Regions from separate parts of the Homo sapiens genome. Here region 1 is linked to region 2. The links are contacts of gene promoters, found by promoter capture Hi-C in blood cells and fetal thymus (Javierre and others, 2016). All regions are on one chromosome and are shown on one strand. Each heading gives the region's core, a stretch centred on a gene start or on the middle of the fragment in contact. The rest is flanking DNA. Distances are from core to core; before and after follow the strand shown.

The links. The method cuts DNA at HindIII sites, captures the fragments that hold promoters and counts their contacts. A CHiCAGO score of 5 or more calls a contact.
Region 1: the fragment with the promoter of WIPF2 here is called in contact with the fragment with the promoter of CCR7 in region 2 in 1 of 17 cell types (neutrophils); the score reaches 5.4 in neutrophils.

The regions. Positions count from the first base shown.
Region 1 is chr17:40,217,435-40,220,709 of GRCh38, forward strand. WIPF2 (WAS/WASL interacting protein family member 2) reads left to right here and starts at 1,870. Exons shown (of 8, transcript NM_133264.5): 1 at 1,870-2,058. RefSeq lists enhancers at 1,211-1,260, 1,701-1,810, 1,711-2,489. The HindIII fragment of the contact is 14,072 bases long and covers 1-3,275 here.
Region 2 is chr17:40,563,779-40,567,209 of GRCh38, forward strand. It overlaps CCR7 (C-C motif chemokine receptor 7), which reads right to left and starts at 1,694. Exons shown (of 3, transcript NM_001838.4): 1 at 1,622-1,694. The coding sequence starts at 1,631. RefSeq lists an enhancer at 333-1,249. The HindIII fragment of the contact is 7,070 bases long and covers 1-3,431 here.

The DNA.
Region 1 (3,275 bases), core at 620-3,119, 350 kb before region 2:
TATCCGGGTAATTTTTGTAGTAACAAGATTTCACCATGTTTCCCAGGCTGGTCTTGAACTTCTGGGCTCAAGCGATCCCCCCTGTCAGCCTCCCAAAGTGCTGGGATTACAGGCATGAGCCACTGCACTTGGGCCATTTACCTTTTTCATGAAGCCTATATCACTATTTCCCCAAGTCTGGGTGAGATGTCCCTATATTCATCCCAGCGGCTGCCCTTATCACAGAGTGTGTGATAGAGCATGGGGCTTTACATTAGCTACAGTGGGCAGTGAATGCCCTCTGAGGACGAAGCATTTGCAGTAAGGCTTGAAAAATGAGGAAGAGGCGGAGGATAGCCAGTACACAGTCCCTGAGGTGGGAACTGCTGAATGGGGTACATTGCAGTGATAGAAATCAGGTCCTCATAATGTAGAGTGAGTGAGGAGGGGACAGGCAGGGGATGAGGTTGAAGAGTTGGGAGGCTCTGGTAAGGTGTTTGGACCCACCATCTCCCTGGCTCCATCGCCCCACGTATGGCCATGCAGGATGTAGACAGCTGAAAATCTTTACCTCGTGTCCTTGATCCCTATGCCTGCTGTGTTCCCTGCCTTCTCTGATTAATAATAAAATTCCATTCATCCTTCAAGGCCCAGCTCCAAACCATTTAGGAAACCTCCTTCCATTCTTTAGCAGGAATTAATTGCTCCCTTGTCTGACGTCCCACAGCACTAATCACACGCTGACTTGTATCTCAGCTAGCTGTTTATGCCAGTCTGCCCACCAACGTAGTGAGTTCCCTGAGGGCAGAGGCTCTGTCTTAGTCACCTCTGTAGCCATCTCCTGGTGTTTAGCAGGTACTCAATGTGACATTTACTTGACTAGTGGGTGGTGCCTAGTACTACTCATGGCAGAATAGAAGGAAAACAAAAATAATAACAACTTATGCTCTATCACGTTTTCCCATTCATTAACTGATTTCAGCTTTGCAACAACTCTATGAGACAGACGGGACAGGCACTATTAGACCCATTTTACAGATAGGGTAGCTAAGGCCCAATGGCACACAGCTTGTAAGTAATGGGGACTAAGTCCCAATCTTGCCCCCTTACTTCGGATTCTGTGCTGGGAATGGAATTAAACCAAGAGTATTTTGAAGCTATAATGGAAAGCGCTTTTCTGGGTGGACTAGGGAGAGATACTTAGTCAGCTGTCAGGGTTTAACAGCAGCTCCATCAAAGAGGGCACAGGATTTCTCTCTCTGGCCCAAGCAGCTGGAGGGGTCCACAGCACCATCCTATAGCCCTGGAAGCTGGAGGAAACCCCAGCCCGAGAAAGAAGAGACGGTGTTCGAGTCAGGTGGGTAAGATGACGTAAATGATGACTTGTGAGCAGTGGCCTGCCTCTGTTGCCATGACAACCGGAGCTTGACTACTTGGCCTTTGCAAGGTTGGCCGAGGCGGGTTCTTCGTTAACTCGAGATTAAGGAAGGATATTTAGGGGGGAGGGTGTGTGTGTGTGCGGCGGATTAAAGACGAAAGGAGTATATTCAACAATGACTGTTTAGCTCAGTGGTTCTCCACCTTGGCAACACGTTAGAATCACCTGCAACAATTTCCTGATGCCTAGGCTGCACCCCAGAATTAAATTATAATTTCCAGGGGTGGGAACCAGGCATCATAGTATTTAAATCTTGCCAGGTGATTCCAATTGCAGCTAAAGTTGCAAACCCAGCTTTTAGCTGGTAAGCGGAATTCCTGTGACCTTCCTAAGATGGCGTCCACTCAACCGCTTCCGCCTTTACGTGGGCCGGCAGGGGGCGGGCTTCCCAGGGGCGCATGCGTCTCGCATCTCTCCGCTCCCTGCTCTCTCCTCCTTTTTCCCCCGCCTCCATTTTGTTCGCGGACGCTGGGGACGGTGGGAGCAGATCCATTTCCGGGTTGGCAAAAGGGGCGGTGGCGGCGGCGGCGGCGGCGGCGGCGGCGGCGACGGCGAGAAAGAGCTTGCCGGGGGGCGAGCAGGACAGGACGAAGCCGGAGTGTAGGCGGCAGAGGATTCGCTCCCAGAGCAGCTGCGGCCAGGTCGGAAAGAGGCCGGGGCGGCTGGGTCAGTCGCTGAAATGACCTGCGGACCTGAGTGGGAGGGAAAGTCGCGGGGAGGGGGGCTCGGGGCGGGGCTTGAGAAGAGAGGGGGGCATTAGAGGAGGGGCCGGAGGGGGAGAGGGGTCTTGCGGGTGGGGCCTGAGGGGCGGGGGGCCGGGGGACTGTATCGGAAGAACCTGGAGGAGAGAGGGCGTGGGGAATCTGGGGAGGAGTGGTCGAATATTGGTATGGGGCGAGCGGGGACTGGAAAAATGGGGAGGAACGTTTTTGAGAGACAGGCAATAAGGGCTCCTGAAGGGTTGGGTGAGTTAAGGCGGCAACTCTGTGAGGAACGAGGTAATCGTGCGCAAAAAGGGAGACGGGAACGGAGGACCTGTTGGGAACGGCTAATTAGCAGGATGCTGTGGGTGAGGAGTCCAGTGTGACATTTTGGGGATTGAGTTAGGTGAAAGCTAGTGTTTGGGAAGATGGCTCGGGAAACTGCTTACACTAGAGGGAATCTTGAGAGCGTTCTTTGAAAAGGAATCAGAATTTAGTTAAAGGTTGGATTGAGAATGTTAAGATGCGCATTGGAACGTCTGGAGTTGAGGGTTCATGTTGAAGTGGTGTGAAGTGAGGGAAGATGGAATTTTTTTTTTTTTGTTTTAAAGGTGGGGTCTGGCTATGTTGCTCAGACTAGTCTTGAACTCCTGGGCTCAAGCGATCTTCCCACCTTGGACTCCCAGAGTGCTGGGATTACAGGTGTGAGCCACTGCACCCGGCCAAGATGGAAATGTTAAAGTGTTCAGCATGGCAGTGTGTATGGTCGAGTTTTTTATCAGGAAGGAAAGTTCTTAAAAATAGCATTGAGGCAAGGAACTGATATGTGATGGAATTCTTTTTTCTTTTTTTTTCTTTTAAGAGACGTGGTCTCACTCTGTCGCCCGGGCTGGAGTGCAGTGGCATGATCATGGCTCCTTAAAGCCTCGACCTCCCGGGCTGAAGTGGTCCTTCCACCTAAGCCCCGCCAATAGCTGGGACCACAGGTGTGACCACTACTCCCGCCTAACGTGTGTGTGTGTATATATATATATATATATATATATATATATATATATATATATATGTATATATATATATTTTTTTGTTGTTGTTGTTGGAGACAGAGTCTTGCCCTGTTGTCCAGGCTAGTCTGGAATTCCTGGGCTCAAGTGATC
Region 2 (3,431 bases), core at 444-2,943:
TAGGAGTCTAGCACCCCTAAACCTAGTCTGGGGTAAGACACTCTGCACATCTTCCCAACCCCCTGTTCAGTCATGTAGATGGCTTGAAATCAATCAGCCAGGGTGGGAGAATTTACACCATGGAAATTGGCAAGCACTACAAATTCAGGACTTTCCCTCCACCCTGGAGTCAGCTACCAGTGCTCCACCCCGGGGAGCTGCTTTTCAAATGCCCAGTAGCACACCACTGGGCACTGCTTGGTTTCCTTCCTGGAGGCCAGTATGAAAGGCTGGAGCAGGGTCTTCTGTGGGTGACGTCTGTACTGTGGGATTGTGATGGGGGGTGGTGGAGGGGGTGCAGGGGAGTGGGATTTAAGGGTAGATTGGCTGGGAAATGAGGCATTTGGAAGAGATTTTCAAAAACTAAACTCTACGGAGTTCTTGATACGGTGTATTCATTCATTCCGCAGACATTTTCTCCTCACATCCTCAAAGCACCTGAACCTGCCTTTCAGGAGTTCACAGTCAGTGGGTGGGGTGACCACTTTAACCCTTTCACAGCTGTTTGCTGGGTCCAGATCCAGCGTTCAGGGCAGGCGGGAAAGTAAGAGATGAAATCAAGGAGGCTGTGGTGTGGCGAGGAGGGGTGTGAGGACAGCACCAGGGAACCTTCACTTTTTAAAGCCAACCCTTTGCGGCTTTGAGGCCGCCGTGGTGCATTGTTTGCTGGTGAGACAAGCCATCTAGGAACCTGGTCTTCTTAGCCTCAGCCTGGTCTGACTCCACAGCTGAGATTTATAAAGGGGGCGTCTGGAGCTGGATGAACCACTCAGAACACCCTCAGTGCTTCCCCTTGACCCCTTCTAGGTTAGACCTGAGAAAGGGCTTTCTAAAGAGTAGAGTTATCTGCCGGGGCAGAGTGCGTGAGGTTTGCTCAGGGGCAGGGGCTGTGCTGAAGGCCTGGCTATGATTTCTCCAAGCTGAGTGCCCCTTGCCATCCCATTCCATGTTGCCTGCCCGTTCCTTAACTTGCAAGAGGCAACAGCAAAGCCAGATCAAAGCAGGTGGGATGTGCAGCAGAGAGAAAGCAACCAGAGCTTGCATTTGCAATGCACCGCACCATTCTCACAACCCAGTCACGTTTCATTTGCATCTCCTCATGACCCCAAGTGGACAGGTATATGAATATTTGGCAGGGGAGAAAGGTGGGAATCAGAGAGTGGGTAAAAGGTCCTAAGCTCTCTAGGGAGAATTTCTCTGTTGAAACCTGTCCCCAGAGGTCCCAGAGGGCCTAACCTATCACCCTCATGATGAGAACAGGTTCTGCCAGACCACCAAGCCCAGCCCCGCCACTCTCTTATGTCCCTGCTGTTTTAGAAAGACATGATCTCGGCCCCTCCCTTGTCCCCACTGGCACCAAAGGCTGACCCCTTCTCCAGGTCTGAAAGGGCAGGTGCACCCCTCCTGGGACAGCAGGGGGCATTCTCTGGAAGTAGCTTCCAATGCCCACCAAATCAGAACTGATTTCTCCAGGAAGCACCCCTATGCGCTCCACCCGCATCCTCCACCCCCATTCCACAGGGTCAGTCTGGGTGTCCAAGACCCTGGTACTGTTCCTTCTCACATGAAGAGGCTCACTCACCCAGGTCCATGACGCTCTCTGGGCGGTAAAACCACACAGGAAGGCTGTGCCCGGCCTCGCACTACCCCTGTCTGGGGAGGAAGTGGTTCAAGCCCCTTTTAAGTTGTCGGAGAAGCCACCCTCTTCCCTGCCCCTCCCACCCTTGCTCCTCCCCCCAGCCCTCCCTGACTCATGCAGGGCCCCTTCAATGCCTTCAGAGATAAAGGGGCAGAAGAAAGGTGACAGAGGGTGACAGTCGCTGGTCATAGGATCCTGAATCATTAGGTCATTTACATTCAAAAAGCCCCCTGCGCTGCCTGGCAGAATCTAGATGAGGGGCCATTTACTGATTCAACAAATATTTATAGCATGAATATCACATGCCAGGCCATGGGTTAGATGTTGGGGAGTCAGAGATGTGTGAGAGAAGTGTCCCCATCCTTCCCTTGCTCTGCTCAGTGTCACAGTGGAATATAGTCCCAAATGGCTTTCCCTCTGGCTTCTGGGTAGTTTAGGCCAATGGGAGGCACTGACACATAATGACAGGTAAAAGGGAAGAGATATGCCACGATGTATCTTTTTTCTCCCCCCTTCCCCTCCCCTCCCCTCCCTCCCCTTTCCCTCTTCTCCCCTCCCTTCCTTTTCCTTTCTTAATGACAGCTTTATTGAGCTATAATCCACATCCCATAAAATTTACCTTTTTAAAGTATAGAATTCAATGGTTTTTGTATGTTCACAGAGTTATGCAACCATCACCACAATACATTTTAGAACATTTTTTCTCACTCCCTCTCAAGAACCCTGTAATCACTAGCAATGACTGCTCCCCTCCCCTCCTGTCATCGAAAGCCCCTGGCAACCACAAATCTACTTTCTGGCTCTATAGATTTTCCTATTCTGAACATTTCACATAAATAGAAGTATCAATATGTGACCTTCACATCTGGCTTCTTTCAGTTAGTGTTTTCAAGGTTACCTATGTGGTGGTATGGATCCATTCCCCATTCCTTTTTATGGCTGAATAACATTCCATTGTATGGATATGCCACATTTTGTTTGTCTGTCATCAGTTGGATGTTTGGGCTGTTTTCCCTTTTAGCTATTATGAATGATGCTGCTATAAATATTTATGTGCAAGTGTTTGTGTGGACATATGCTTTATTTCTCTTGGGTATATACCTAGAAGTGAAATTGTTGAGTCATATGGTAATTATATATTTAACATTTTGACGAACTATCAAACTGTTTTCCAAAGTGACTACACCATTTTGTTCCCATCAACAATGCGTGAGGGTTCCACATTGTCAACAAAACTTACTATTGTCCATTCTTTTGATTCTAGCCATCCTAGTGGCTGTAAAGTGGTATCTCATTGTGTTTTTTTTCTTTTTTCTTTTTTTTTTTTGGAGATGGAGTCTTACTCTGTTGCACAGGCTGGAGTGCAGTGGCACGATCTTGGCTTACTGCAGTCTCCACCTCCTGGGTTCAAGTGATTCTCCTGCCTCAGCCTCCCAAGTAGCTGGGACTACAGGCACGTGCCACCATGCCTGGCTAATTTTTGTATTTTTAGTAGAAACGGGGTTTCACCATGTTGGCCAAGCTGGTCTCAAACTCCTAACCTAAGGTGATCTGCCAGCCTCGGCCTCCCAAAGTGCTGGGATTGCAGGCATGAGCCACCATGCCCGGCCTCTTTGTAGTTTTGATATGCGTTTTCCTAATGACTACCTATGCTGAGCATCTTTTCATGCTCTTATTGACCATTTGTATTATTTTTTGAGAAATTTCTATTCAAATCCTTTGCCCATTTAAAAAATTGGGTTATTTATTTTTT